Linked DNA regions of Homo sapiens: region 1 is linked to region 2. The links are contacts of gene promoters, found by promoter capture Hi-C in human tissues and cell types (Jung and others, 2019). All regions are on one chromosome and are shown on one strand. Each heading gives the region's core, a stretch centred on a gene start or on the middle of the fragment in contact. The rest is flanking DNA. Distances are from core to core; before and after follow the strand shown. Region 1 overlaps SELENOI (selenoprotein I). Region 2 holds the start of OTOF (otoferlin).

Region 1 (3,197 bases), core at 641-3,140, 170 kb after region 2:
GCAATGTCAAAATGTGTACTGCACTTTATAAAAGCATGGATAATATTAAAGGATCACAAAAGGCAGCATTAGCATTCTCTATCCAGGTATTATTAAATCTTTTTATCCCATGCCCCCCTCAAATATAGGAGAATTATTATCTGATAAGCCTGAAACGACTTTTTTAATACCATAACCTAAAAAGACACTTCTTACAGGTGTATGCAACTTTGGTCAGCAGAAACACAATACGAGCCTCTGGCCTAGCTAAGGCACTCTATTCTGAAAGTACGGAAAACATGCACGTATGCTCCTTATCATGGCATTGCTCCCCAAAAGGCAGCTCACTGTATGCTGGGGAGAAAGGCTGGGGCATGAAGTCACCCACAATATCATGCATAAGCCTGAAAGACCTTTCATACTTTGGAAATGTTATAGTAATTGGCATGACATAAATGCACACAGCTATCTGGAATGAAGTCCTGCTTCAGCTGCTATATCTCTACACAACAAATGGGGGCTCTCAAGATGCACTTTCAAGAATGGCAGACAAAACAAGAAAAAGAGTCAGCAGTACACTAAAGATCCTCAAGTATCCTGAAACAGTGAATTGCTCAATTTCACTTTCCCCTTGTTGACAGCTACTTTTCTTTCATCTAACAATGTCAATAAAACTGACTATGGCATCATTCTTTACCACCATAGGGAAACAAGTCATAAAGTACAGCACAAAACAATTTTCAAATAAATTTGATACAACCAAAAGAGGGCAGAAACACACCTTTGAAGTAAAAGGGCCCCCAAACTATAGGACGTGACCTTAAAATGTCAGAAGTAAAGGGTATTTTTACTATACTGTACAAGGTCAAGAAAGCCTGTGGTCCAAGTTTGTCATTTTATAAATATTTATCAGTTCTTTTCTTATATAATACAGATTAATCTCATTCTTGTGTACAAGGTCAACAAAACGGTAAAATAATTAGCTTAGAAATCTTAAAACAAAGCTTTTTCCCTACCCCCAATTAACATTTTATCCAGTTTAATTTTATAGATCACAAAGAACAAGGTATACAAAAAATAGTTACCGTCACTTAATTGGTTAATTCTCTGACTTCCATGATGGCAATTAACAAACATGGGATCACTATCTGCATTATTCTGCATCCATTTCTCATCTATTTCCAACGTTCATCTGTGTCTCAGAGAAAGTCACCAAATACACCTCAACCTTTACAATTTCTTAAAATGAGTATAGAACCATGAGTTAGTGCCGTGACTCATTTCTAATAACTTGAATGACAATGATTGGAATTTATAAATTTTAAAAATGAAATATCAATTACAGTTATTTTTTACAAAGCAGCAGACTGAAATTCAAGAAAGAAATACACTATAATTAAATTTAACAATGGTCACATTCATAAATAGTTATGAATTTAATTACATATCAACACAGTGGTGCCTATTTTATCCAAGTGCAGCCTGTCCAAAAAAAGGGGGTTTAAGATACACTCTTCATTCAAGCACAAACTTCATTCAGTGAAAAATAAAAGAAAATCAGCAAGTAAAGTTCACCACCACCAAATTAAATGAAGACAAAGAAATAGAAGAAAATATCCACATCATGAAAAAATATGGTTTATAGAACAACTACACTACAATTAAAGGGATTTTTATGTTTGTCAGTAAACCTCAGAAATTACTCCAAGTCATGTTAACATTAAAGGGGGCATGTACTCAGTAAGGCATATATATCAAAAGTTTTCTTCAAGTGGGGAAATGGACAAGCTGGAGAAGAGAGAACTTCTCTCTGTTTTATCTCGTATGAAATAAGAAACACAGCACCTCACCCTGAAAAAAGAAGAGAGGGGAAGGACAGACAGACAGACAAACTGAATCAAAAAATTAATTTTGGTCATAGTGAGGTTCATGAAATTCCTAACTCCAATTTATATTTATCTTACAAGGTACTTTTATCTGCATTCCTCCTAAGTCATTACCATAGGACTGGGACTGTCACATGCATTCCTACAATCAGAGCTCACAGGCACCAAATCTCAGGAACCTGCAGCTGAAGGGGGGAAAATGCCATATTTAAACAATGAACCATCCCAATGGGTGAGCGATAATTACAACCCATTCTCAAATTCTCAACTGATTATTTCTCTTTAGGAGAAAATTAAACCATCTATCAAGATCTGTTCCATAATAAAGAGAGCTAGAATATTAGCTAAATGTATTAGCTCTCTTATCATTTGAGAACAAAAGCCATTTTCAGGGGAAAGAGAAACCAGTATTTGGCAACTGTCTGTTGTTTGGTAATCATTGGCATCTCTTGGTGAAGGTGACTTATTTTTATCCTTTCCCTATACTAGGTTTGGACTACTGCTACTCCCGCTATTACAAAGTTCCAAATATGAAAACACACTGTGGTTTTCTGAGTGTTATCAGTGTTCTGAAACCAATTTTGGTACTTAAAAAATAAAAACAAAGCATCTTTAACCCTGCATGAATCACAACATTGTAAACTCACGAAGTTAGAACCATTAGGAACATTTTGCTGGTCTAACGTACATTCTGCTCAACCAAAATGTCACATAGTTTTATAAAAAATAAAATAGGCTTAGAGTTAGTAGGTCCAAAATTTCCCAAGTTCAGATTATATGTATCATTCCTGCTGTCCAAGTACCATACTGAGATCCCACGTCTGTCAAGCAGATCAGTCTAGTTCAATGGTGATGGAGGAAATATTTACAAGCATTTATTTACAGTACTTCTTTGTGCCCAAAGAAAGATTATTACAGGCCAATATTCTTTTCTTCCATTCCTAGTCAATCTGAGTTTGGTTTCCTCAATGAGAAGGGGTAAATCTGAAAATGGCTGCTCAGCTGCTTTACCTATGAAAAATCAGAACATGAGACAGTGACAAATATGTACCTTATTGTTTTTTAAAAGCACACAGAATTTACCCCCTAGAGATAACAATTTATTGACACGGCAAAAATCATGAGAAATACTGAAAAGGTTTTTCTGGATTAGGATAGCTATAGAACTAGACAGCTAAATGGAAGTACTAGAACTAACATGGGAAAGTTAGGACTTAGAACTAAAATCTAGTCTTGAGAACCCTCCAGAGCACTCAAATTCACATCCAAATCTGAAAAACTATAGGATTAGTTGACCTGTAGCATCTAGATCAAGTAATCATATTTATAGTT
Region 2 (3,120 bases), core at 236-2,735:
AGACATTAAACTTATCTAGCTTTTGAAAATTTAGCATTCATACTTGTATTCAATAAACAGAATACTCTAAGACATTTTTAAATTCAATATGATTAGATAAATGTGAGAAAGGTAAGCAAGAATTGGTTAGGAAAAAGTGCAAAGGAAAAAAACGTAAGTAGAAAAAGAAAAATAGGGCACAGTAGCAAGGAAATATCTAGAAGGAGGAAAGAAGGCTCTTGGGACATACTGTAGGTTATTTGGAATGCAGAATTCAAAAGAAGTAACCTCTTGTTACCATGCTGTGAAAAATTAGTATTTCTCTTTTTAACCTTTAGACTCTGTTTCAGGTAGATCCCTGAGCTCACTCTTTTATCCTTTCAACAGTAATTGGGCATCCTACGGTGCACAGGATACCATGTGGGGCTCTGGGGTAGAGGGATGCTGTGCTCCAGGGCCCTCCTGAGGTCAGGAGGGGAAAAGGCAAGGGAAGCAGCCCCAGGACTCAGTAAGATGAGAGGAGGCAGGAGCAGCACAGAGGAGGACCCCAACCCAGCTGGGGTGCGGGTACAGAGGCACCTCCAGGAGCAGGCACTCAAGCTGAGTCCAGGGTGGGGTGGAGGGCATTCCACCAAGAATGAATAGCAAGAACAAGGCTGCAGATGACCCTGCACAGATTCCAGCATCAGGGATTCTGGCCCCCAGCGTCCCTTTCCTTGGTGTATGCTGCTGGAAGACAGGAGGGGGCAGTTCTCTTTTGGTCCTTAGAAATTTCCCTATAGACATCCCTTCTCCTGCCCCTAGCAGCTTATAACAGCAGAAGGCCATTCAATTCTGCTCCTCTGGCTGGAAAGCAAACATCAGCCTGGCTTACCTTCGCTAGCCTGCCTGACCCCCAGCCTTGGGGTGGGGCTAGGTTAGTGCCCTGGATCCTTAAACATGGCCCCTGGTAGCACATAAGCCTCTGCTGCCTCCACAACCAGCCATCTCCATCATGCATGGCCTGGTCCTGAGCCTCCCCTCAGGCAGCAGCCCCAGCCTCTCTGCTTCCTGAGATTCAGAAACAGGGATCCCAGGGCAGGGCTCAGGGCCCAGCCTCTTGGGGGCACAGTCTCCAGCAGGGAAGAGGTGGGCGTAGGTGGACAAATACATTCCCTTCTTCTTGTAGTGTGCCCCTGTGGGTGGGAGTGCCCCCCGCCCCACATCCACCCTACCTATGCTCATGCCCACTCCTCTGTGCCCACTACTGGTGGCAGGGCTTGCTTAGCAGGGAAGCAGCAGAGCCCTGCAGAGGGGTGGGCAGAGCCTCCCTTCCAGGAGCTGGGAGAAGACACCTGAAGCTGGACAGAGCTTTATCTGGGAGCCGGCGGCTGCTGAATAATGAATTCCAACTCTGCCGCACTCCCAGGCTGCACATTGGGTGCACACACACACACACACACACGCACACACCGATACACACACGCTGGGCTGACAACTTGGAGGGGCGGGGGCTGTGAGGCTCTGTGAGTCGCTGCAGGAGCAGCTTAGCTCGGCTTGGTTGCCTTGGTCTCTGTGGGCAGCATCGGAGGGGGGTCGGGAGGAGGAGGAGGAGGCAGCGGCAGAGAAGAGAGAGGCGTGTGAGCCGTGCTCCACCGGCTAGCTCCTTCCCGCTGCTCCTGCCTGGCAGTGCCAGGCAGCCCACACCAGCATGGCCTTGCTCATCCACCTCAAGACAGTCTCGGAGCTGCGGGGCAGGGGCGACCGGATCGCCAAAGTGACTTTCCGAGGTAGGGAAGCCGCTGTCTCAGAGGGACGCCAGCTCTGAGAGCTGGACCAGCCCATGCTCTGGAGGTGGCCGGGGATAGGACAGGGCTGGGAGGATGGGTGGGAAAAGTTCTAGCAGGGGCTGGGGCGACGAGCCTTTTCACAGGTAGTCATCTGCCTGGGACTGACTGGCCATTGTGATTTCTGGAAAATCAGGGTCCCCTGTTCTTCCATGCCTGTGTCTCCTTGTGCTTGCCAACATGCCAGTTCCCCGGGCAGGGCACAGAGCCCTCTGCCTGGGGAGGCAGAAGTGAGGACCACATCCCTGAGCTCAGGGAGACCCAGGACCCCCTCCTTCTCTCTCTCTCCCTCTCCTGCAGGTTGATTTCCTTGAGCACAGGGTGGGGGCCGGGTATGGAGCCTGGGGCACCCAGGGTGACTGGGAGAAACCAGGCAGCCAGTAGCTCCCTGGGCCCCAGAGTGATGGGGGACACTGTTGGCTTCTTTTAGATCTATTCATGGGCGGGAACCCCGGGAGCCCCTCGCCTCTCTTCTGTCTGGTCTTTTCTCATCCTTTTCACTCCTGTATTCAGCGACCATTTATTATGATCTACTGTGTCCCAAGGATAGGGGTAGAAACACAGAGCTGAGCACAACCCAGCCCCAGCCCCAAGGAGCCTGCATCTGTTGGGCAGGCGTGGAACAAGCAGGACAGGTATGTGAGACAGAAGGTGGGGGTGCAGCATGCAAGCTACAGAAGCAGCACCCTCACCCAGGCTGGTGACCGGTGGTCAGGGAAGGCTTCCCGGAGGAAGTAACACTCAGCTAATACCCGAAGGACCAGCGGGTGGGAGCTAGGAGAGGAGGTAAGGACTGAGGAGGCAGAGGAAACAGTGTGCCCAGAGCTGAGAGAGGAGCTGAAACTCTGGAACTGAAAGAGGTTCCATGTGTCTACAGCTCAGAGAGGGTGCAGGAGCGGAGGCCAGAGAGCCAAGCAGGGCAAGGAGGCGAGGCTGGACCTGACCCCGGGGACAGCGGAGCCCCTGAGCATTTTAAGTGGGGAAAGGCAGGGCCAGGCTGACTCTGTCCTTCACCACCCACCTCTGCCTCTCCATGTGGTTGCTGCCCAGCCCTGAGGGTTGGGGGTACTTCTCACTAGACATGGCCCCTTCTCCCGAGAGAGGGGTCTGAGAGTGGGATGGGGACGAGGTGGTGAGAAGGGGGCAGAGAGGACCCCCCTATACTAAAGAGCAAAGTGAGCCTTGGGGCCCAGGCTGGACACAGTGTCTGCACCTCTGTTGGAAGGGATGGGAGAGACCATTGGCAGAACATTCCAGCAAGAGCCCTGGGGCACCCACATCACCTACCCAGAGGCCCTGGGATGCCCACATTGCA

What was found. The method cuts DNA at HindIII sites, captures the fragments that hold promoters and counts their contacts. A contact is called where the count stands out against the background at its distance.
Region 1: a contact is called between a fragment that was not itself captured here and the fragment with the promoter of OTOF in region 2, in 2 of the 25 tissues and cell types used here (mesenchymal stem cells and mesendoderm cells).

What each region holds. Positions count from the first base shown.
Region 1 is chr2:26,388,684-26,391,880 of GRCh38, reverse strand. SELENOI (selenoprotein I) reads right to left here. Exons shown (of 10, transcript NM_033505.4): 10 at 1-2,876. The coding sequence ends at 2,778. Among named protein-coding and RNA genes, the nearest start is that of DRC1, 12 kb to the left of the region's middle. The HindIII fragment of the contact is 3,586 bases long and covers 98-3,197 here.
Region 2 is chr2:26,557,121-26,560,240 of GRCh38, reverse strand. OTOF (otoferlin) reads left to right here and starts at 1,485. Exons shown (of 47, transcript NM_194248.3): 1 at 1,485-1,748. The coding sequence starts at 1,670. RefSeq lists enhancers at 538-1,330, 1,331-2,124. The HindIII fragment of the contact is 11,571 bases long and covers 1-3,120 here.